Linked DNA regions of Homo sapiens: regions 2, 3, 4, 5 and 6 are each linked to region 1. Evidence: promoter capture Hi-C in 16 types of primary human blood cells and fetal thymus (Javierre and others, 2016). All regions are on one chromosome and are shown on one strand. The core of a region is centred on a gene start or on the middle of the fragment in contact, and the rest is flanking DNA. Distances in the headings are between cores, read along the strand shown.

Region 1 (4,245 bases), core at 718-3,217:
TCACTCATTTCAAAAATATGCAAACTTATTTGCAACTTCCTATAGTTTTATTGTGTCAGTCCAGTCTACTGACCAGGATTTCTGTAAAGCTCAGATAGCATGAACAAGTTCCAAATTGGAGTTAGACTGTACTTTTCAATTTTTTCTTCTATGTCCCAGTAAGTTCTCCCAGGCTGTTAAAAACAACTAACTGTTTACCTTTTTCACCCTTCATGCCCTTTCACTTCGTTCATTGCTAGGTCTATATTCTTTAAGGGGCCGTGCGCGGTGGCTCTCGCGCCTGTAATCCCATCACTTTGGGAGGCCAAGGCAGGCAGATCACATGAGGTCAGGGGTTGGAGACCAGCCGGGCCAATATGGTGAAACCCCGTCTCTACTGAAAGTACAAAAATTAGTCGGACATGGTGGCAGGTGCCTGTAATCCCAGCTACGCGGGTGGCTGAGGCAGGAGAATCGCTTGAACCCGGGAGGCGGAGGTTGCAGTGAGCCGAGATCGCGCCACTGCACTCCAGCCTGGGTGACAGAGCGAGATCCTGTCTCAAAAAATAAAGAAATAAAAATTCTTTTTTTTTTTTTTTTTGAGACAGAGTCTCGCTCTGTGGCCCAGGCTGGAGTGCAGTGGCGCGATCTCGGCTCACTGCAAGCTCCGCCTCCCGGGTTCATGCCATTCTCCTGCCTCAGCCTCCCAGGTAGCTGGGACTACAGGCGCCGGCCACCACGCCTGGCTAATTTTGTGTATTTTTAGTAGAGACGGGGTTTCACCGTGTTAGCCAGGATGGTCTGGATCTCCTGACCTCGTGATCCACCCGCCTCGGCCTCCCAAAGTGCTGGGATTACAGGCGTGAGCCACCGCACCCGGCCAATAAAAATTCTTTAGGAACGCAAGCTGCAGCTCCAATATGAGGATGTGTTTGTTTACCTCCCATCCTTCCTCATTGTGTCTAATCAATAGCGTTTGGGGGGAAGAACACGGGATAAGGAGAACCTGAATGAAAAAAGCCTTAGTTCTGAAAATGAAAATGTTCAGCTATTAAAAGGTAAGGGCTTGGCCGGCTGTGGTGGCTCATGACTGTAATCCCAGCACTTTGGGAGACCCTGTCACATACATACATAAAGTTAAGGGCTTGATAGCTGGTACCCTCAACAACTCCCAAAGGGTAGAACAGCTATTTGGGGTTGTGGAAGTTATTCTTGGGGAGATAAGGGGAAGGTTGGGATGAGGAAGAAATGACTTGGAGTGCAGGTGTCAACATAGGGGAGAAACCTGAGGAAAAACAATGTCAGGACATGTTATATAGGTGAGCGTTGAACTGTCAAGACAGAAACTCCTGGCGTTTTCCGCTAAAATTGAAAGGAGCCCAGTGAGGTGTAGGAATCAAGGCCCGGAAGTCGGGGGAAAGCGCCTGAAGAAACTGTTGAATGGCATTTCCAGAACGGATCAGCAGCCGCATATGTGCAAGGAAGGCTGGCACTGTCCTCTGAGGGGGGCCCAAAGGGTGAGGGGCGGATAGGCTCCTGGCTAAGGAAGGTGAGGACTCGCGGGGTCTGGGACTGACAGAGGGGGGCGGGGTTGACCTGCAAGGCCAGGGGCTCCGGGACCCGCCTGCGGGTCGCAGGGTGGGGGCACGGGGACTGACCTGCTGGGCCCGCGGTGGCCGGGGCGCGGCCGAGCCGGCCTGGCGGAGGCGGGCGCAGTACTGGTCGGTGGCCTTCACGGCGTCCACTAGCCCCACGGCGCAGCGGCGCATCTGGCCGATGGTGTCGGCCGCCTCGATCAGGTCGCGGTACCGTTCGCCCACCATCTGCCGCAGCTCCTCCTTCTTGTGCTCGATCTCGGCCCGAACCTGGCGCTCCAGCCCGCGGATCTCCTCCGCTCCATGCGTCTCGAAAAGAGCCGCAGGGTCGCGCAGATCCAGCCGCTTCAGCGCGGGTGAGGTTGCCGCGGTGGCCATGGTGCACTCGTCAGCCCCCGGCGATCTACCTACGCCCTTTTAGTCCCGCCCCCTCCGCCATCTTCGTTGGGGGCGGAAGCGCTTCCGCCCCGCCGGGGGCCATGTTTGTTACCCGAGGGGGCGGGCGCGAGGGGGCGGGCGCGAGGGGGCGGGCGCGAGGGGGCGGGCGCGAGGGGGCGGGCGCGAGGGGGCGGGCGCGAGGGGGCGGGCGCGAGGGGGCGGGGGCGGGCGCGGGCGCGGGGGCGGGCGCGGTCCTGCGCGGGGTTTTCTTAAACGGAGCCGGCTGGGAAGTGAGGTCGCCAGAGAGGTGAGGTCGCCAGGTTGGCTGCGAAACTGTGGCTGAAGTCTTCCCTTTCCCTTAGGAGCAGAGCTTCTCTGTGGAGTTAGGTGTCGGGATCGGGCCCCGCGGACTGACGGCGTTGGCGCAGGCGCAGCCGCCGCTCTCCGCGCGCCTGGCGCCCGCGAGCAGACTCGGGCGCGCTCGCCGCCGCTGGGTCTCGGATCGCACCCCGCGTGCAGTTTTAGGAAGAGGGACATCCGCGCCCCTCGCTGTTCCCCGGGAAGAGCTACCACGCCGCCCCTGAAGGGGTTCTGAGCGCTTGTTTGGCGTCTGCTTTTCCTCTGCTGTTGATTCGTGTTGGAGGTTTTCCATTTCGTTTAAAACCGATGTTTAGCCCCTGAAGACGTTTTCCCTGCGAGAGCCTGACCTTGGTGGCCATGGGGGAGGAGGGCGGCGGGCTGGGCGGGAGAGGCTGGGACGCCCCGGGGAACGCAGCGCCAGACGGGTGGGCGCTCCTCACGTGGCCCAGGAATAGTAGAATCTGGAGATTGTGGCTTGTTTCTGCTAAGTCCCAGACCCTTCTTTTTTTTTTTTTCTGTTTTAATTTCTTTTGGAAGATTTCACCCACACCAGTGTCGACAAAATGATGCAATGTGCGCAGCGGCCATGCTGAGCCCCCAGCAACTCAGGGCCTACCCTGCATCCCTGCTCATTCCCTCTCCCACCCGCCACCTCCGGACGCACAGAATTTCAATCTGCAAATAAATGGTGCATTTATAATATTCCAGTTTAACCCGCAAGAGCCTTGCGGCGTAGGGAGTATCATTCTCACTTTACAGACTCATTTTACAGATGGGGAAACGGGGGCCCGGAGAGGCAAAGGGTTTTTTACTCAGTAAAAGTGCAGTTTTCAGAGCCTGTCCACGAGATTATCTCATTTTCTCGCACATCGGCCATGCCAGGTAGGTAGGAGTAATATTCCTAGTCCATTTATGAGGAAAAAAAAAAAAGAAACAAAAGCTTATTTACCTGCCCAAATTACATAGCTGATAGGTGACCCAGTGAGTATTTGGACGTCGATTTTTAAATTACTGGCTCGCGCTCTTTTCTACGTTTTCACATAATTTCCCACAGAGCACCCTCTGTTGGCAGGCCTGCAGTTTGCAGTCTCTAATCCCATTCTGCAAGGGACACTTACTGGTATTCGGCTGATAAGCATCCGCAGTATCTCCTTTCTGTGATTGGGGAATTCATCGCTATCTAGCAAAATCTTTTTTTCTGGCGCCCTTTATAGCTACGGTGCCAGCCTGCGGCCTGGGACTGGCACAGCAGGCACAAGCGCCTAGGACTTGGGTGAAGAGTTAGTGACATTAAGAAGCAGGCTGTAATCCCAGCACTTTGGGAGCCCAAGGCGTGTGGATCCCTTGAGCCCAGGAGTTCAAGACCAGCCTGGGCAACACGGCCAAACCCCGTCCTTACAAAAAAATACAAAAAAAGGGGCGCGCGCCGGGTGGCTCATGCCTGTAATCCCAGCACTTTGGGAGGCCGAGGCAGGCGGATCACATGAGGTCAGGAGTTCGAGACCAGCCTGGCCAACATGGTGATACCCTGTCTCTACTAAAAATACAAAAATTAGCTGGGCGTGGTGGCGCACATCTATAATCCCAGCTACTCGGGAGGCTGAGGCAGCAGACAGGAAGCTGAGGCAGGAGAATCACTTGAACCTGGGAGACGGAGGTTGCAGTGAGCCGAGATCGAGACACTGCACTCCAGCCTGAGCGACAGAGTGAGGCTCCGTCTCAAAAAAAAAAAGAAAAAGAAAATTAGCCGGGAGTAGTGGTGTGGGCCTGTGGACCTGTAGTCCCAGCCACTTGACAAGAGGCAAGTGAGGCAAGAGGATCACTTGAGCCTCTGGAGGTCGAGACTGCGTCAGTGAGCCATGATTGGGCCACTGCATTCCAGCCTAGACAACAGAACAAGACCCTGTCTCAAAAAAAAAAAAAAAAAAAAATC
Region 2 (4,115 bases), core at 1,283-3,782, 360 kb after region 1:
ACTAAGTCTCAGTGACGTTCTAGATTTCCTTCTCTGTGCCCTGTTCTCAAGGGTCAGCCTCCTCTTCACACTAGAGCCATGTTGGGCTTTCCTGTTGGGAGTGGGGATGTGGGAGAAGTCACCTGATAGACTGAGTCAGTGCCCCCATGGAGCCGACAGGGGAATAAGCCAATGGGTTGAGTGTGGAGAGGTGGAATTTCAGGCACTAAGGAACTCAGAGGAGTGCCAGGGTATGCATGGGGTTTGATGAAGATATTTGGGGCCACGTACCTTCCCATGGGCTCCTTGGGCTCTACCTTGCGAGGGACCAATTGCTCTGCCCTGATTTGTTTAGTCCTAAAAGACTCAGGATAAGCACTGGGTTTTGCCTCCTGGTAGTTCCAAAGTGTGCCCTGTTGCTTAGAGACAGGGGATGGTGCCTGGAGTGAAGATAAGGTTGTAAAGGAAACCAAGCCACAAATTCCCTTGTTTTTGTTCAGGTTGCTGGACAGAAGAGTAAAGGATTTTTGCTCTGACAGTTGGAAGAAAGTGTTTTCTTTTCTGTGTGTGTTTTTACCAAGTTGATGTGTTATCCAAGACACAGCCGAGTTAGTACCCACGTTGACAAACAGTGTTGAGTTTTGCATGGCTACCTTCCTCTTAATTCTGGTGTTCCTGATTTAGGAAAAAAAAAAATACACAGTCATCTTCAAGGGATTCTTTGTTGAAGCTTCAAATGATCACATCTGCTCTATGCTAGCGTATCAGTGGACAGAAGAATTGGAGGGGGCGATATCCAGGAATGGTACTTGAAATGCTCCTTCCCAGTGGGGAGTTTAAATTTTTCATTTATCAGTGGTAGCAATTTTAGCTCCTGATGCTGGAAGCCTGCTGGGAGCTTGAGGAATCACATGTGTATGCATGTGTGCATGTCTGCATTTCCTCATGGCCTCATACCTTCTGTGAGTCTGTCTCCTCTCCTCTCTCCTTCCTTCCTGCATATTCATCATGAGTAGCATCACAGGTTTTCTGAAGCCCTCTGACCTGTTTCTCTTCCCCATTCCCTGACTCTGCACCGATCCCCTCCTCCCCTAGGTCAACTTCCTGAACACACTCAGTTCTGTTCCTTTACTGAGTCCGGGGGCATTTCAGCTGAGTGGGGGGCTCAAAACACACCTTTGAGGGGAACAAGGTGGCTACACTAGTGACGTGGAGAAAACTGCATCAGGAGCAGACAGGAGGGGACATTAACTGGGTAGGGGTGTGAGTGCCATGGGGGCCCATGAGGATGGGGACACCAGGGTGGTTTATACAGTAGAAGAGACAAGGGATTTTAACAGATGGAAAGGGGGAAGAGAGGAGGGACCCGGATCTGTCCGGAATCCCAGACATGTACTTTGGTTGGCCCTTTGAGCATGTCTGCCCTAATTCGGCATGTTTGTTTTCTTCTCAGCATCCTCCCTTTCCCTCTGCCTCTAAGTTAAAGTCCTGAACTTCTGCCCAGCTGCCCTTGAGCTGGAAGGCCCATAGTTGTCTTAGCTCTTCCCTGTCCCTCATTCTCCATAGCTAGTTGGTCACCAAATCCCACTGATCACCGGCTCCCATCTCCCCCACCTCTAGTTCCCATCTCCCTTTTCCAGCCCCACTGCTTTGTGAGGGGGCCTTTTTTTTTTTTTGAGACAGAGGCTCGCTCTGTCTCCCAGCTGGACTGCAGTGAGGCAATCATGGCTCACTGCAACCTCCACCTCCTGGGCCCAAGTGATCCTCCTGCTGCCTCAGCTTCCTGAGTAGCTGGGACCACAGGTGTGCCCAGCAAACCATTTCATTCATTTGTTGTGTGGAGACAGGGTTTTGCCATGTTGCCCAGGCTGGTGTCAAACTCTTGTGCTCAAGTGATCCTCCCACCTCGGCCTCTCAAAGTGCTGGGATTACAGGTGTGAGCCGCCGCACCTGGCTGAGGCCCATTTTTTTTGTTGCTTCGTTTTCTCCTCATCCATCTGCTCTGCACTGTGTTACCAAACCTAACTTTTGAAAATAGAAATGTGCTTTCACGCCAGTCTTCATCTTACGTGAGAAAGAAAAATATAAATGTCTTTAATCTCCCCACACACAACCCCCAGTCACTACTCTCCGATGCTTGACTCCTGTGAGTTTCATCAAATCTGTGGGTGCAGAGCCCACCAGGGTGGGAGCCTTTGGAGGAGACAGTGGAGCGGTGTCAGAGAGCAGTGACAGCACAGGTCCTGCTCCAGCAGCACCTGGACCAGGGTGGGGCCATATGGTGTCCTGGAAACGTGGCACACAACCTCCACCTTGCAGCGTGTCCACCTCCCCGGGGGCACCCATGGCCCACAGGTGCGAAAACCCCCCAGACTCAGGCTGCGGAGACTCCTCTCAAACAGGAACTCAGCTCACCAGGCTGGAATAGTCTTTTAGGGTCCTTAGTTAAGCACACAGGCTCTGGGGTCTATTGATCTAAGTTCAAATCCCAGTGGCCCCTCCACTTAATAGCTGTGTGCTTGAGACAAATACCCCTCTCTGTGCCTCCATTTCACTCCTACTGTGGCCATGCTTTCTGGAAGCTCTAGGAGAGAATCAATTTCTTCGCCTTTTCCGACTTCCCATGGCTGCCTGCCTTTCCTGGCTCATGGTCCCCTTTTCCCCTGCAATGCCCAGTTGAATCTTTCTTGCATTGCATTACTCTATTGCTAACTCTCCTACCTTCCTTTTCATTTTAAGGACCCTTATGATTACAGTGGGATCCTCCAGATAATCCAGGATAACTCCTCTCAGGGTCAGCTGGTTAGCCACCTTAGTGCCTTCTGCAGCCCCAGTTTTCCCTGCCATGCCACACGGCATATTCAGATTCTCGAGATTAGGACATAGACATTTTAGGAGGTCATTAATTTCCTACCATAGCATGTATTATTTTATTTTGGCACAGTTGTGGCCAGAGGACCACTATCAGAGACCTGAGTGGATGGGACCACTTTAGCAGCTAGCAGAAATCCATGTATCACTGCCCAGTGTGTCTTCCTTGCCCACGTGAAGCCTCAAAGCAGCATTGCCGTGGATCTGCCTGATTGGGAAAGAAACTGTATTTCCCTCTTGCTTTATTACAGTTCTCTCTTCTATGGACTTGGGCACCTGTCCCACAGTAACCTGGCCAGGGGTCTGTCTGCGAGTGCCTGTGCTACAGTGTATTCAGTCTTTCCTCATCATCATGGAAGATAGTCTTATGCTAACTTCCCCAGTCTCCATGGGAACCTCCTCTTCAGTGCATTTAAAGACAGTTATTCCTTCCCTGGTTGAGGGATCTGTATCCAAGGGTGAGAATGAGATGGCTGAAGGCAATAGCATTTTTCCTTCATATCAAACTCATGTTTTCCATGCACCCCTGTTGGTCCCTTCCCAAAGCCTTCCTGGTGTCTCCCCACCTGGGGTAGAGGAGTGGGCCACTTAGATGGAGAATAGGCTCACATATTCTTTTCTTTTTTCTTTTAATAACAGCTTTATCAAAATGTAACTCACACAGCCTACAATTCACCCATTTGAAGTGTACAGTTTAATGATTTTTAGAATATTCACAAAATTGTGCAACCACCACTATAAATTTTAGAACATTTTCATTACCCCAGAAGAAACCCCTACCCATTAGCAATTATCCTCCATTTCCCTCCAGCTCCTCCCCCACAAACCCTAGGCAACCACTCATCTACTTTTGTCTCTATGAATTTGGCTATTCTGAACATTTCATATAAATGAAATCATATAGTATGTGGCCTGTTGTATCTGACTGCTTTTAATTAGCACAGTGTTTTTAAAATTCATCCATGTATCAGTATTTCATTTCCTTTTGTTGTCAAATAATATTCCATTATATGTCTATACCACATTTTGTTCATCCATTCATCAGTTAATAAGCATTTGGGTTATATCTACTGTTGGACTATTATGAATAGTGCTGCTCTGTACTTTCATGTACAAGTTTTTGTATAACGGCATTTTCATTTCTCTTGGGTCTAAACTTAGTAGTGGAATTGCTGGGTCATTTGGTAACTCCATATTTGCCCTTTTGAGGAAAATGTAAGACTGTTTTCCAAAGTGATGCACCATTTTTCATTCCTATCAGCAAT
Region 3 (3,806 bases), core at 64-2,563, 270 kb after region 1:
GTGTCCAGAGGGTGGTTACAGTTGTCTAGAAAAGAATCCAATCGTTAGGCCTGGGATCCTCCTCTTTGTAGGAATTTTATCTTTTTTTTTGGAGCAATCAGTGTTATTTGAGCACATCAAATTCAGCCTTATTGAGAGTGAGATGGTTTCTTCCTTTATTAACCCTTTATTAACCCATGTACTTTGGACTGTGCTATATGGCTCAGGATGATACTACAAATGTTCCCTTTTCATGAATATTTCCTGTGTGTGTGACCTTGACTGTTGAATGTGGGCTTTCCAGTGTGTGTGTGTGTAGTGTGTGTGTGTATGTGTGTGTGTGTGTATACATTTCCTTCTCAATAGAACTGATTATTTTTGCATGTAAGAGATGAAATCACCTATTGATTTCACAAACCATCTGAGCCCTGTGCTCTTTTTTCCTGAAATTCTATGGGAAAATGAAAGGTAATTATGCATTGGAAGCACACACTAATAACATGCTTGTGGGTGGGGAGGCGTGATTGCAACATGGAATTGGCATTCCTGCTGGTCCTTGTCTTTGAATTTTCGCTACTGAAATATTTGAGATACTCCAGGTAAGCCTTATAATCACCGGGAGTTTTTTGTTTTAAAGCAGCATCAGTGTTTCTGAAACTCATGGGATGGCCTTCCATTCTACTGAACATTGGCAAGGTCCTTTTTAGAATATGTGTTGAATTTCATATACCTGAAGGCACAACAACAGGCTTGGAAATGCTTCAGTGAACACTGGTTCAAATCCAGGGCTGGGACTGGGCGCAGTGACTCATGCCTGTAATCCCAGCACTTTGGGAGGCCAAGGTGCGTGGATCACTTGAGAGGAGGAATTCAAGAGCAGCCTGGCCAACATGGCGAAACCCCATTTTTTTTTTATCTCTACCAAAAATAAAAATAAAAGTTAGCTGGGCATGGTGGTGTGCGCCTGTAGTCCCACCTACTCGGGAGGCTGAGGCAGGAGAACTGCTTGCACCCAGGAGGTGGAGGTTGCTGTGAGCTAAGATCACACCACTGCACTCCAGCCTGGGCGACAGAGGGAGACTCTGTCTCAGTAAATAAATAAAACAAATCCAGGACTGGGCAACCGGACATTGTCATCTGTAAGAGGCATTTTCTTTCACAGCTCTGTGTCTGGTGCTGTTCAAATCAGGGTAGTGGTCTCTTTTATTCAGTAATTCCCGTGCAAGGTCACGTGGGGCATTTATCTGTGAACAGAAGACTTTGAGTCTGCTTCTCACCTCAGCTTGATCCCCAGGTGTCCCCCTGGGGTCAGGAGCAGAAAGGGCCACTAAGGCCTACCAGTGCCTGTGAGCTCCATTCTGAGGTGCTCGGGAATCCCTTTTTGGGGTCAAAGATAACAACTAATTAAAACGTAATAAAGCTGGTATGTGAACAAACACGGCAGAACTCATCTGGCAAACGAGATTGGGCTCCCTGGAAATGGTCAACTTGGAATGATGGCATTATTCAAAAGACTTATGGAAGTCTCTTAGAAGGCTTCTCAGGGCTGGTTTATAATCAAGTTTAAAAACAAAGGCAATCTTATGTTTTTCTGGATGGACATCATTTTAGCAACAACAGCAACATCCCCAGAAAAAATATCTTCCCCCAAAACATTCAAAGCAATTACTCCGAAGTCAGAGGAGCCTCCAGTCATTTTTCCCTGAGGGGCAAAAAGGACTTCACAAGACAAACACAATCCCTGATATTGCATTTTCAGACATTTTCTCATGTCCATTTGGCCTTTGTGGCTTTAGCTGACTTTCTTTTGGTCTCTGGAGCCAACAAGGTTAGGTGAGAGGCTACAGTAAGAATGCAGTGAGAAGAGAGATGAGAACAAACTCACTCTCTACATATTTGTCATTCAAAGCATGGCTGGTTAAAAGGAAATTATGATTTGATTTTTTAAAATTTCATTGTTAATACTTTCACTGTTAGATGGCTCACAAAGATGATGGAATTTACTCAAAAGTTGAAGAAGCATTTATATGGAACCAATTGAGCTCTATGTCTCCTTCCCAGGAAAGATGAGGATTTAAAAGCCTGAGGGCTCACATGGGACCCCAGGCATATTCCTTGCATTAGATTGTGTATTGCTAAGAGTTTAAGCATTGATTTCAGTTGTCTGGGTGGAACAGGCTGCTTAAGTCAGCTTTGCCTCACAGCAAGGAAACCTCAAATCTCAGTGGTTTGCCATCCTGAAGGTTTATTTTGCTTCCAAATAACATGCAGGCTGCAGGTTGGCTGTATCTCTGTCACATTGTTTTCTCCTTCTGGATTCCAGGCTGAAACAGCAGCCCCTGTGGCCATGTGCAATGTCATGGTGGAGGGGAAGAATTAGAGAATTGGTGGAAACTCATGACGTCCTTGAAGAATTCTGCTTGGATGTGGAGTGTTCACATCCATTCACATTCTGTTGCTTAACAAATCATATGGCAAAGTCTGACATTGTACAGGGAAGTATGCTTGGCCAATAGGCAGGTACTGCAATTCCAGGTGGGGACATAAACATCTACTAAGGGGAGGGAGACATGAATAATTGTGAATAGAGTAGGCCTTCTGCATCCGTGGTGAGGAACACACAGATATGAAGAGCTGGCTCAAGGGACTTGATCAGCAGATCTTGGTATCTGTGGGAGGGAGGAGGTATCCCTACGGATACCAAGGGATGACTGTATAATACAGTCTGCTACAGTCTTCCCTCCTGGTCATAAATAATCATCTTATATATCATTTTGTATATTTATATACGACATAAATTCATTTCTGACTCATGGAAGATACCTAAAAATTCGCATGTAATCATGGAATCAGGTGTGAATTTCAGGATCTCATGAGATTCTATCAGCAGGTCTGGATTTAGTTGCTGTTCATCTAGAGAGCTGTGAACCAAAATAAGTGACCTGGTCCACATGTCCGTCGTGGAAGAACAGGAATAGGCCAACCCCAGTGAGCACTTGTATTTCAAAAGAGAAAGAAGCGCATCCACATGGCCATCCTGAAATTCCACTGGACAGCATGAGAGGCCCACCTGCCTTGGGATAGGGAATTCTCCTCAAATGAGAAGCTCTCAAATCCATTGTTCTCTATGGCTTTTTTTTTTTTTTTTTTTTGAAATGGAGTCTCACTCTGTCACCCAGGCTGGAGTGCAGTGGCACAATCTCGGCTCACTGCAACCTCTGACTCCCAGGTTCAAGTGTTTCTCTGGCCTCAGCCTCCCGAGCAGCTGGGACTACAGGTGCACGCCACCATGCCTGGCTAATTTTTGTATTTGTAGTAGAGACGGGGTTTCACTATGTTGGCCAGGCTGGTCTCGAACTCCTGACCTCGTGATCCACCCGCCTTGGCCTCCCAAGGTGCTGGGATTACAGGTGTGAGCCACCGTGCCTGGCCTCTCTCTGACTTTTGACTTCTCCCTCTGGGAGATTTTTCCTTTTTGATCATCCTGTTCGGACACACCTGAAAAAGTATTAGAGAATATATCTTCATTGGGGACTTGGTAGCTTTCTCAGGCTACTTCCTGCTTATAGCAATTTGGGGTGCCAAAAGTTGTTTTAGGTCCCCTGTGGTCACAGTCTCTTTTAGACCAGGCTGGTGTCTCTTTTGGGGATATCATTCATGCTAAACAATGATCAATTTTTATTTCCATTTGATTTTAGTTACTCCCTGGGCCAGTAGCCACACCTACACCTCTTTTGAGGTAACTATTTACCAGACATATCTCTCCTTCTGGATTTAATTACAGGCCACTTTGAGCTTATCAGGTTTCTGTGAGACCATGTCACTAA
Region 4 (4,082 bases), core at 192-2,691, 490 kb after region 1:
AAAGGGAGCCTAGCACCACATTAGAGCAAGGACCCTGAAGTCAGACTTCCTAGGTCCAAATCGAGGTGCTGCGATTTACTAGCTACATAGTCTTGAACAAGTGAATCGAGATCTCTGTACCTTGGTTTCCTCATCTGTCAGTGAGGGATGATAATAGTTTATCTCCCATAAGAAGATTACATGAACTAGCAAGTTGATATGTCTAAAATGCTCCATACAGTGTTTGGGCAAATAGCAGGTATGCTCTGGTAAAAATAATAGTTGTTGTTGTTTTGGAAAGAGTCTCACTCCGTCGTCCAGGCTAGAGTACAGTGGCATGATCGCAGCTCACTGCAACCTCCACCTCCCAGGTTCGAGTGGTTCTCATGGCTCAGCCTCCCAAGTAGCTGAGACTACAGGCGCATGCCACCATGCCCGGCTAATTTTTGTATTTTTAGTAGAGATGGGGTTTCACCATGTTGGCCAGGCTGGTCTTGAACTCCTGGCTTCAAAGGATTCACCCACCTCGGCCTCCCGAAGTGCTGGGATTACAGGCATGAGCCACCACCCCCGGCCAACAGTTTGTCTTATTTTGAGGTGGGTTCCTCTGTTTAGGGATCATCAAACAGAGAAATTAATTTCTAAGCCTCTCCCAAAGAGACACTGAGATAGAAGATAGCTAAACATCTCCTATGTTCATTCAGGTTCTTGGTTTCTGAAAACTCTGAGTTGATCTTGGTTGGCCATGGATGTTAACAGTTTTCCAAAATGGATTTAAGGACTGAATCTGTCTGGACTTCAGTTTGGCCATGGAGAAACAGATCATCAGAAAAGTGGGGGCAGGAAACCTTACTCTGTGTGTTTCACGGGCATATTGTCAAGACAAAGAATGTGGGTGACATGCTTGGAACCCTGTGGGGTATCGCCCCCCAACCCCCCATGTTACCTTTACCCCAGCAAGAAAATGCCCATTCAAAGGTGTTCTTTTGCTTACTGTGTCTCCTTATTATAATAGTTCTCCTATTTCTCCCCACACGGAACTGCTATAATTAAAAGGCCATCAGCTTTGCATATCATTACTTGGCTATAAAAATTTCTGCAAGTTGGAACTTGAGTGTAGAGGGATTTGGCTTTGATGCACAGGGTTTATGTTGCTGTCTTTCTCGCTCCTAAAGCACATACACACCAGCACATCAGTCCCACATGCAGGACTTTTCATTGCCTTGTGGTTTGGAAGGGATCCACTCCTGATGGAAACCCCCTAATATCTCAGGAAAAGCCTATAAAATAAACCCAAGTGGGAGGAAGAGGCAGACAGATGAAGACCTGCCAACCGACAGCTCTGGTGTCTGGTGATGGGGCGGTAAGGGAGCTTAGGAGATCAGGCAGCCCATTTATGTCTTCTTTCTTTCTGACTCCCAACCCCACAAAGACAGAGGGAATCAATTTTTTTTTTCCTTTCTTCCATTTTTTTTTTTTTTTGGTGAGATGGAGTCTCACTCTGTCACCCAGGCTGGAGTGCAGTGGCGTGATCTTGGCTCACTGCAACCTCCACCTCCAGGGTTCAAGCGATTCTCCTGCCTCAGCCTCCTGAGTAGCTGGAATTACAGGCATGCACCACCACACCTGGCTAATTTTTGTATTTTTAGTAGAGACGGAGTTTCACCGTGTTGGCCAAGCTGGTCTGGAACTCCTGACCTCAAGTGATCCACCCGCCTCAGCCTCCCAAAGTGTTGGGATTACATTTGTGAGCCACCATGCCTGGCTGGAATCCACTCTTAAAATTCCCTGGAAAAGAGGAATTCCCATACTCTCCCATGGACCCTTCCTGCTTTTGTGCAAATATGACTGCTAGAACTTGGCACTGTCGTGTACTTTGATGACTCATTTGGTAGAGTGGAAGACCGTCGGTCTCTAGAACTTGGCACTGTTGATCATCTGGTAGATAATTCTTTGTTGTAGGCGGGGGGTGCCCTGTGCATTAGCCTCTTCCCACTAGATGCCTTCCCCCTAGTTGTGACAACCAAAAATGTCTGCAGACATTGCCCACTGTTCCCTAGGGGTCCAAATTGGCCTGGTTGAGACCACCACCCTAGGTAGTACATGCTTCAAGCACTTGAAGGCCTACTATGTGCCAGCCACTGTGCTAGGTGCTGCCTAAAGAAAAAAACAGTAGCCTCCTATCTTTGGACTCAGTAGAACACAGGAAGATAGGGTTAGCTTGCGAGTTTATGAGAGCATGTGGATTGGTATATCCAAGGTTAGTGATCTGTCCACCCTGAGAAATGTCTATGTTCTTTTTTATTTTATTTTATGGAGACAGAGTCTCACTCCATTACCTAGGCTGGAGTGCAGTGGTGTGATCACAGCTCACTGCAGCCTCCATCTCCCAGGCTCAGGCAATCTTCCCACCTCAGCCTCCTGAGTAGCCAGGACTACAGGCAGGCACCACCACAGCTGGCTAATTTTTAAACATTCTATAGAGATGGGGTCTCTTTATATCACCCAGGCTGGTCTCAAACTTAACTTCTGGGCTCAAACAGTCCTTCCACCTCAGCTTCCCACAGTGCTGAGATTACAGGCGTGAGCCACCACACTCTGCGTGTCTATGTTCTTTTTTTTTTTCTTTTCCTTCCTTCCTTCCTTTTCTTTCTCTTTCTTTCTTTCTCTTTTTCTTTTTTTTTTTTTTTTTTTGAGACAGAATCTCCCTCTGTCTCCCAGGCTGGAGTACAGTGGTACAACCTCGGCTCCCTGCAACCTCCGCCTCCCAGGTTCAAGCAATTCTTGTGCTTCAGCCTCCCCAGTAGCTGGGACTACAGGCATGCACCACCACACCTGGCTAATTTTTGTATTTTTAGTAGAGACAGGGTTTCACCATGTTGGCCAGGCTGGTCTCGAACTCCTGACCTCAGGTATCTGCCCACTTCGGCCTCCCAAAGTGCTGGGATTACAGACATGAGCTACCATGCCTAGCCAGGTCTCTGTTCTTTAAACTGCATCACTCACTATCTCTTGAAAGAGCTCTTTCTGGCCCCACAGCCTTCCTGCTTAGCATCGCCACACAAGGAGATGGTCCCTCAACACCACGTCCTTGTGTGCCCTCCTCAGTGGAGAGCGGAGCTAGTTTTTGTCCTCCATAGATCCCCACTTCTGAGGCTTGATCAGCTTCCTCCACACCTCCCTCTCTTCAGGCGAAATTCCAGGTCTTTAACCTCCTGGAAGGCATTGTTGGCAGTGCCAAAACCATGCCAAACATCTGGGTGAGAACTGCAAAATGAGACCAGTTCTTCCAAAGTTTCCCAGCTCTGCCACTGGGATGGAATGTGATGGAAGGTGAATGTGGCCCCCAAGCACGTCGTCCCATCTGAGCTTGGTGGAGCTTCAGGCTGCAGGTTGTGCAGGGCCCACGTGTACCACGTGTGTCAGCCTGATATGGCTTGGCTATGTTCCCACCCAAATCTCATCTTGAATTGTAGCTCCCCTAATTCCCTTATGTTGTGGGAGGGGCCCAGTGGGAGATAATTGAATCATGGGGGTGGTTTCCCATATGCTGTTCTCATGGTAGTGGATAAGTCTCAGGAGATCTGATGGTTTTATAAGGGGAAACCCGTTTCGCTTGGCTGTCACTCTTCTCTTGTCTGCCGCCATGTGAGATGTGCCTTTCACCTTCTGCCATGACTGTGAGGCCTCCCCATCCACGTGGAATTGTGAGTCCATTAAATCTCTTTCTTTTGTACATTGCCCAGTCTTGGGTATGTCTTTATGAACAGCGTGAAAACGGACTAATACACAGCCCCACCTCTGTCTTACCCCTTTCTTGCCCTTGCCTTGGATTGCTTGTTCTGTCTCCTTCATTAAGGCCTGGGGACCCTGGGGGCAGGGCTGTGCATTCTGACTCCTGTGTCCCTTCCCTGGCAGTCCCCAGCCCCGCCTTTCATGGCGGTGTATCTTGGAGATGTTCAGAAACCACTGAATACATCCAGATGTTGGCTGTTGTATATAAAAATAGTTAAATGTCCTCCTGGCATTTTAGGTTTCCTTCAAACTGTATGTGATTCAGAAGCAGCTGTACTTACTGCCCAAAGATTAGATAGAAATGACTT
Region 5 (4,256 bases), core at 666-3,165, 440 kb after region 1:
ACTTGGGATGCAGCACTTTCAAGTCAAGCTATTAAGTCACAGAGAAAAATCAAAATTTTTCTTTTCTATGTCAGGGTTCAGAAGTTTATCACCCACACATCCCGTAGGAGGTTAAGGAGGCCCCCTGACAAAATGAAGAAGGGACACAAGGGGATAATATGACATAAGAAAGAGGGCATCACAGATACTGTGTGAGTCCTGCTCTGCGAGACACCTGAGGAGTCAGTGGCACAGAGGCAGGAAGTAGAAGGATGGTTGCCAGGGGCTGTGGGAGGGAGGAGGAGGAATGGGGATCTGGGTTCAGTGGGTGGAGAGTTTCAATTATGCAAGATAAAAAGAGCTCTGGAGCCGGGTGCAGTGGCTCATACCTGTAATCCCAGCACTCTGGGAAGCCAAGGCAGGCAGATCACTCGAGGCCAGGGGTTCGAGACCAGCCTGGCTGACATAACAAAACCCTGTCTCTACCAAAATTACAAAATTAGCCGGGCATAGTGATGCATGGCTGTACTCCCAGCTACTGGGATCACTGAGGTACAAGAATCACTTGAATCCAGGAGGCGAAGATTGCAGTGAGCTGAGATCATGCCATTGCACTCCAGCCTGGGCGACGGAGCAAGACTCTGTCTCAAAAAAAAACCAAAGAGCTCTGGAGATGGGTGGTGGCGATGGCTGTACAAAAGTGATTGCACTTAATGCCAATGAATGTACACTTAAAAATGAGGAAGATGCTCAATTACATGTTATTCATTCACATTTTATCACAATTAAAAATGGTAATAAGAAAGGGAGGAAGGAAGGAAAGAACCTAATTAAAACCTAGACGATGAGAGGATGGGGGCCACGATTCTTAGAACTGTCTTCTTCAAATGGGAAGAGTTTGAAGCTTTAGGATTGTTTTTCCTTACCTTCATATAGCAACCTGATTATATAATCATATGTTAGCACACCAATATTGTACGCTCACTTTTTTGTTTTGAGATGGAGTCTCACTCTGTCGCCCAGGCTGGAGTACAGTGGTGTGATCTTGGCTCACTGCAGCCTCTGCCTTCTGGGCTCAAGTGATTCTCATTCCTCAGCCTCCCAAATAGCTGGGATTACAAGCGCCCACCACCACGCTCGTCTAATTTTTGTATTTTTAGTAGAGGCGGGGTTTTTGCCATGTTGGCCAGGCTGATCTTGAACTCCTGACCTCAGGTGATCCTCCCGCCTTGGCCTCCCAAAGTGCTGGGATTATAGGTGTGAGCCACCATGCACAGCCTCCTGCCTTCTCTTTGAGCTAAGCCATAATGCCAGCTTCTCAGACATCATCTTGGCATGACCAACAAGGCCATGACCACACGGGGCCTATCCCAGGGCGCTGACAGGCTGCCGTCTGACACCTGAAGCCTGACAATTGCTGAACTGGGATGTGTAAGGAAGGCAGTTTTTTTTTTTCCTCCATTAACAATTGAAATACTTCTGCTTGTAGGAAAAAATGCCCCTCCCTCCCTTGGATACATACGTTGTGGTATGATGCCTGCCCTCCATGTAGCAAAACATACTAGTGATCTGAGACTTCAGAATCTTTTTCTTGCCTGGATTTTAGAAATACTTTGGTGGGAATCACATGTGGGGAGTGATAAATGAACCTGTATCTTAGGTTATTCATCATCCTGAAGGAACTGCCAGAGTCTAATTTTGTTCGAAAGTCCTCCAAGGGAATTAAAAAAAAAAAATCCTTTCCTCCAGTTTTTTTAGGCCCTCAAGAACATGCAAATTACAAAAACATAAATAAGTCCTCCCCACCCCCCACCCCACCTCCAGAGGTATTCCATAGTCAAGTGTGTGCTAGAGTTCATGATGCCCATGTACGGCCTGTGGGATGGGGTGAGGCTCCAATCACAGGCGATGTGGTTGTGGTTCCGAGGTATCTGGCCCTAGGCTGCCTTTCCCTTTGACAAGGCAATCGGGTCCAACCTGGGACCCAGACTGCACGACCTCTTCATGTGAACTTGGGGGAGGAATAGCAGGGATCAGTGGCCATCCACTTCCTGGGGATGTGAGACCCTCTTGTGGGATAATTCCCAGGGTGACTCTCTTGGCTCCCAAGGGGCACAGAATGGGCGCCACCCACCTGCTGCAGAGGTTCACCTGATTCCTCGACCCATCTGGCTTGTGCCTTGCCCCAGGAATCCCCAGTCTCTTTGTGGAGAACTCCTGGCATTGATCTTTTCATGAGCCAGGTGAGAGGCTGGGCCAATGGAGCCTGTGTCTCTTTGTGCGTGTGCTCTCAGCTGCAGGCCTTCCCAGCCAGGAGGGATGTGTGGCTGAATTCCTGGTACGACTTCCATCTAGTGTTTTACGAATCTGAGCCTGGAGTCATAGAGGTGCTTTCAGCCATGCTTTCCCCTCTTCCTCCTGGAATGGTCTACCCACCTCAGAGGCAGCATTTTCCTAGGATCAAGCAGAGAGATCCCTGTGACCAGTGATTAGAGACCTCCTGCCTTCGGTGTGCAGTGTGGGGCTGGGGACTGCTCCCACTGTCTAGGGTGGGGTGGCACTTAGCAAAGCCTCCATCTGCAGCCCCGGTTTCCCAAGGGGACCAGAGAGCCTGCCCACCTCTGCTGCCCAGGGCCCACTTATCACAAAATAGGCTTGTCTTGGGAAAAATAATTCCCGTCTGACCACACTACTCATTGCCTCATGCTTCCTTCGTCCTGTGTCCTCATATTTACAGAGCTGCTTAGGTTGTCCCTGCTTTCTAAGCCTCCCAGACAACTTTGTTGTGAATATACAAGGTTCCCCAGAACATAAGCCTGTCCACTTTCATACAGTGAATCTGTCAGATCCAGACACTTCCCTGCCTGCCGTGGACTTTGGACGTAGGGAGAGGAAGCCCAGTGGCCAGGTGATTGATGAGGCTCTGACTTCAGAGTCAAGGAACTTTGCTACCGGGTTGCAAGCTTTTCTACACCACGGCTTCATTGGTGGAACAGAGTGTTTGGGAGCAACAGATAGCAGCCCTCCCCACTCAAAGGGCACAGGGATTTCATGATAATTCCCTGCTGGGCAAAGCAGAGGGAATCTTGAGTTTTTGTGTCTTCCAAGATGGCAGCTCTTCTGACGGCAGGTTCCCCCACTGAGTCAGAACCTACCTCACCTGCCTCTTTGCTTCTGCTTAGTCCCTTGACCTCAAAACTAACAACTCCCTTGGTTATAAGCAATTATTCATTAAATAAATAAATAAAAACCAACAACTGTGTGTGCTCAGCTCGGCAGAAAGAGGCCCGGAGGGTAGACTGCGGTGCCCTTTCTGGCCCCTCTCCCGTACTTGGTCTGTCCTTGGGCCTGCAGATATACTTCTTCAGATTCAGGGCAAACCCAGGTGTGGACGACCATGGTGCAAGGTCAGGGGAGTTGGCTAGAGGCATGCATCTGGGCATGACACGGAGCTCGTTAGTTGGAACAGCTCGGAATCTTCAATGCCAGTATAGGCATTCTCTCCCTTTTTCTCTGAGGAAACACAGAGATCTGATCTTTGTCTGGTTATTGAGAACTAAAGCAAATTGAAATTGACTCCGAGATGTGGGTGTTTAACCAGATGCCTTCACCTGTTGTTTGAAGATGTGGCTGTCTTCAGTCATACAAACGAGGCGCTGCCTGTGTCTTCGCAGTCTGCTGGAGTCAGGCTCAACTCTAAGTCGGCAGCCATGACTGGAGAATAGCATTTTCTGGGTCTGTCACTGTTCAGAGGGATCCCAACGTGAAACAATCGGATATGCCAAAAAAGCACACTTGTCAACATTAATTAGGAAGTAGTTATTTTAGTTACAAAGGGGATTCATGTTAGAGTATCTTCAATTGTCAATATTTCTTAATAAACAATAGGATGTGACTTTATTGATAAGAATTTTTTTTTTTTGAGATGGAGTCTCCCTCTATTGCCCAGGCTGGAGGGCAATGGCGCGATCTCGGCTCACTGCAACCTCCACCTCCCGTGTTCAAGCGATTCTCCAGCCTAACCCTCCCAAGTAGCTGGGACTACAGGCTCCCACCACCACGCCCAGCTAATGTTTGTATTTTTAGGAGAGACGGGGTTTTCCCATGTTGGCCAGGCTAGTCTTGAACTCCTGACCTCAGGTGATCCACCCGCCTCGGCCTCCCAAAGTGCTGGGATTACAGGCGTGAGCCACTGCACCTGGCCTTATTGATAAGAATTTGATTTAAAGTCAACTTTTCTAGAACACTTCTATTTTTCATCTTTCCCCACATGTATC
Region 6 (3,697 bases), core at 1,195-3,694, 310 kb after region 1:
GAGAAGGCCCTGGAGCTTGTAGGTGCTTGGTGTATTTGAGGGACAGTCAAGAGGCTGGTGTCCAGCAAGTGTTCCAGCGGGCAGGGACCACTAGCACTTTCAGATCTCAATTAGAGTATGACAGGAATCCATCAGGAGGTTTTATTCAGGGGAGTTCCATGAGCTGACACACATTCTAAAGTATTGTTTGGGTGGCTATGTGGAGAAGAGATTCTGGGAGCTGGCGGACAAGGGTGGAATCCAGATCAGCAGTTTGGAGGATGCGTTTGTAGTGGGGGAGGATAGCTTGAGCTGCAGAAAGAGTGGCGGAGTTGAATGTTGAGCTGATGGGATTTGCGGATAGGTAAGGACTCTGAGAGAAGGAGAAAGGAGGAGGAGGATTCTTAGCCTTTGGGATTGAGTGATTTACAGGGAGTGGCTGGAGAAAAACAAGTTTGGGTTGGAAGAACAAAAGTTCTGTGTCTGAGATGCCTCTGAATACTCAAGTGGTAACGTCAAGTAGGCAGATGGATTCATGACTTTGGAGTTCATGGAAGACATTGGGGTTGGAGATATAAATTTGGGAATGACGAAAGTCATGAGATTGGTTGAGATTGCCCAGGGGAGCCTGTGTAGGCAGGAGAGCGAAGAGCACTGAGGACCGAGCACCAGGGTCCTCCATTTGGAAATCGGGAAGTGGAACAGAATCCAGCAGAGGGAACTGAGCAGAGGTGTTGCCAGTGAGGATGCAGGAATACTGGGGGAGAAAGGTTTCTTGGAAGCCAAATGAGGGATGTTCAAAAAGAGGGGAATTGACTAGACATGTGAAAGAAATGCTGAAAGGATGAGCAAGCTGAGATCTGAGATGGGAGCACTGGATTGGGCCACATGGGCACCAGTGGTGACCCCGACAAAAGCAGTCTCAGTAGAATGGTGGAGATGCATCATGGCAGTAGGTTTCTCTCCAATTACATTCAACTCTTTGGCGACAAGTGCAGAATAGATGGAGAGTCGGCATTAAGTAGGCATATGTGTAGGTATTTGCTAGAGGGTGGCTCTAGCGAGGGCCACTGCTTGATGAGGGGGGAAGTGTGGACATAGGTGGGAGGTTGGAGTAAAAAGGTGGCTGGGCCAATGGCACAGAGGTGCCAGTGGTACTAAAGAACTGGATCCAGCGTTCACAAGAAAGGAGCTGGAAATAAATATAGCAGGCAGGTGGTTCAACACCTGGAATGCCTGCCATTGAGATTTTAGAGGTAGATCTGATAAGTAGTGCCCTTGGGATTAGTTGGTTGAGATGGTGCACAGGACAGGTTCATTGGAGGTGAGGCAGATGGCTTATCTACATGAATAGTGGCACCTGAATAATGCTGCTGGAATCTTCAGTGAATGCAGGATGGGTCTAGGTGGGAACTAGGTGATTGCAAGAGGTGAGCCCGTAGCCTACAGGATTAGAGAGTTGTAAAAAATTACTAATCAAATTATTACTCGCTTTGGAATAGACTCAGCTGCACAGAACCAATGCTTGATTTGCAAAAGTATGAAACTGGAGTTGAGTATGCAGAAAGCGTTGACGTTCCAAGCTTCATAGGAAGCTGTTTAATTCCAATATAGAGAGGAGGCAAAAACTGAGGAATAGCTGTCTGGAGCTGCAGGGAAAACCTATAAGCTGATTTTTAGAATCCAAATCCTAGTCCACAGGAAATCTTCCATTTCGATAACCTACAAGTATCATCAGAAGTCCTTGACACAAGTGGATAAGAATTGCTGTGTTTTGATGGTACTCTAGAAACATAGACACAAATCATTCAAGTGCTCCAGCCCCTTTGTCAAAACAGGCCTTTTAAAGGGATGATAAATCTGAAGAAAGTTAAGTATCCTACTGCAAGAAAGACTCATTTAATATTACCACTTTATATTTAATGATGAGTTCCTCTCGTTATGCATTTTTCTTTGTTCAGAAGAGCTTTAGAGTTCCCTTGTCCAGTTTTAGAATTCTGTTGTGATTTTGAGTGGAATTATGTTAAAGCTATCCATTTGAAAAGACTTAGTAGCTTTAAGGTTTCCAGTCTTTCTATTCAAGAATGCAGAATGCTGCTGCAGCGATTTCCTATTTTATATTTTTCAGTTTATCTCATGCCTTCCTTTTTATTAAACTCTAATGTTCAAGATAGATCCCAGAGCTTTCCTGCCAGTCTGCCTCACCATAGTAATATAGTCTGGTCCTTAAGATACTGAACATGATAGTTTAGAACCAATGACTACCTGAAAAATCCAAAGCGAGACACAGCGCAGGTAAATTTAATGGGGTGACTGTTTCTTTGTATTGAACATTAAATAAAGCCAAGAGGAGATTATTCACCTCCAGGTAGTCATAATTGCTGCAGTTTTAATGGAGCTAGATGTCTTCCAAGCTAAAGACTTTCTGAGCCACAGCCTTGCACTGCAGTAGATAACAGAATGGAAGGGATGAACGCTCTGAGGATTCATTGTTTGAAATGAAATTTAGAATAGTGCACTGGCCCTGCAAATGGCTGGGCAACAGTACAAAGACCAACATGGCCTGAGGCCATCCACAGTGACAACGCTGCTTTTGTGAGCCAAGCTGTGGGCAGCCTAGCAGGCCCAGGGGCACTGTGGTCCTTTATAAGGTTTCTTTCTTTCTTTCTTTCTTTTTTTTGGAGACAGAGCCTTACTCTGTCACCCAGCCTGGAGTTTTGTGGTGTGATCACAGCTCACTGCAGCTTTGACCTCCCAGCTCAAGAAATCCTCCCACTTCAGCCTCCCAAGTAGCTGGGACCACAGGTGCACGCCACTATACCTAGCTAACTTTTGTATTTTTTGTAGAGACAGAGTTTTGCCATGTTTTCCAGGCTGGTCTGGAACTCCCGAGCTCAAGCAATCCACCTGTCTCAGCCTCCCAAAGTGGTGGGATTACAGGCTTGAGCCACTGCACCCAGCCCAGATTCTCCTTTCTATGGGCAGAATTGGATTAAAGACCAGGCCCTACTTGGGCCCAACTTCAGTTTTCACACTATGATATTATACAGATTGCATCCCCTTCCCTCCACAATAAGGAGGGATGGAGGTGTGTATAATAGCCATCTTCATGGCTTTCCCCTGGACCAAGTCTTTTTGATGAGACAAGAATACATTTTTATTGGCTGTTTCTCCCTTACAAATGAATGGGATTCCTCGGTCATTTCTCAGTCAAGCCTCAGAAATTGTAGTCACCTGACCCTGAATCAGACACAATCCACCGGGAGAACAGAGACTAGAACCTGCCTTCCCAGATTCCGTGTAATTAACTGGCTAGCTTCTGCCACCATGAAACCTTGAAAAGCTTCAGTACTGGCGATGCTTGAGCATGTTTTGCATCATGTAAATACTACCCAGGAGGTACCTCAACTGGTTCAGTCATAAAGATGGCGCTGCACTGGGTCATCTCTGTGATTTTCATCCAGGTTTTTGGCAGCAGCCATCTGTGGTTACAGAGGATTTGAAGAGGAAGCATACTGAGAAAACAGAGCTATAGTAACATCCAGGCCTGTGAGGGTAGGTAGACTCCAGTGCACATGTGTTAACAGTAGGAGGCCTGCTCTGCGTAGAATATGGACTTGGCTGTGTTTTATGCACTTTCCACTCACATGCGCCCATGCTTATGTTAGGCCAGTATGCCTTAAGGATGCAGGACTGCGTGATGAACCCTCATGATAAT

The links. Contacts are between HindIII fragments. The CHiCAGO score rates a contact against its expected background, and 5 or more counts as called.
Region 2: a contact is called between a fragment that was not itself captured here and the fragment with the promoter of COG1 in region 1, in 3 of 17 cell types (M1 macrophages, M0 macrophages and M2 macrophages). The highest score is 6.2, in M1 macrophages.
Region 3: a fragment that was not itself captured here is called in contact with the fragment with the promoter of COG1 in region 1 in 1 of 17 cell types (M1 macrophages); the score reaches 5.9 in M1 macrophages.
Region 4: a fragment that was not itself captured here is called in contact with the fragment with the promoter of COG1 in region 1 in 1 of 17 cell types (megakaryocytes); the score reaches 5.2 in megakaryocytes.
Region 5: a contact is called between a fragment that was not itself captured here and the fragment with the promoter of COG1 in region 1, in 1 of 17 cell types (M0 macrophages). The highest score is 5.2, in M0 macrophages.
Region 6: a fragment that was not itself captured here is called in contact with the fragment with the promoter of COG1 in region 1 in 1 of 17 cell types (M1 macrophages); the score reaches 5.3 in M1 macrophages.

The regions. Positions count from the first base shown.
Region 1 is chr17:73,190,777-73,195,021 of GRCh38, reverse strand. It overlaps COG1 (component of oligomeric golgi complex 1), which reads right to left and starts at 1,967. Exons shown (of 14, transcript NM_018714.3): 1 at 1,638-1,967. The coding sequence starts at 1,952. RefSeq lists a silencer at 1,476-1,685 and enhancers at 1,736-2,015, 2,646-2,695, 1,981-2,740. The HindIII fragment of the contact is 5,644 bases long and covers 1-3,254 here.
Region 2 is chr17:72,826,890-72,831,004 of GRCh38, reverse strand. The region is part of intron 6 of SLC39A11 (solute carrier family 39 member 11); the gene reads left to right. Among named protein-coding and RNA genes, the nearest start is that of LINC00511, 190 kb to the right of the region's middle. The HindIII fragment of the contact is 3,642 bases long and covers 712-4,115 here.
Region 3 is chr17:72,924,327-72,928,132 of GRCh38, reverse strand. All of the region lies in intron 5 of SLC39A11 (solute carrier family 39 member 11), which reads left to right. Among named protein-coding and RNA genes, the nearest start is that of SLC39A11, 170 kb to the left of the region's middle. The HindIII fragment of the contact is 6,640 bases long and covers 1-3,806 here.
Region 4 is chr17:72,700,319-72,704,400 of GRCh38, reverse strand. All of the region lies in intron 7 of SLC39A11 (solute carrier family 39 member 11), which reads left to right. Among named protein-coding and RNA genes, the nearest start is that of LINC00511, 62 kb to the right of the region's middle. The HindIII fragment of the contact is 7,138 bases long and covers 1-4,082 here.
Region 5 is chr17:72,747,967-72,752,222 of GRCh38, reverse strand. All of the region lies in intron 6 of SLC39A11 (solute carrier family 39 member 11), which reads left to right. Among named protein-coding and RNA genes, the nearest start is that of LINC00511, 110 kb to the right of the region's middle. The HindIII fragment of the contact is 2,059 bases long and covers 886-2,944 here.
Region 6 is chr17:72,883,117-72,886,813 of GRCh38, reverse strand. The region is part of intron 5 of SLC39A11 (solute carrier family 39 member 11); the gene reads left to right. Among named protein-coding and RNA genes, the nearest start is that of SLC39A11, 210 kb to the left of the region's middle. The HindIII fragment of the contact is 1,760 bases long and covers 1,565-3,324 here.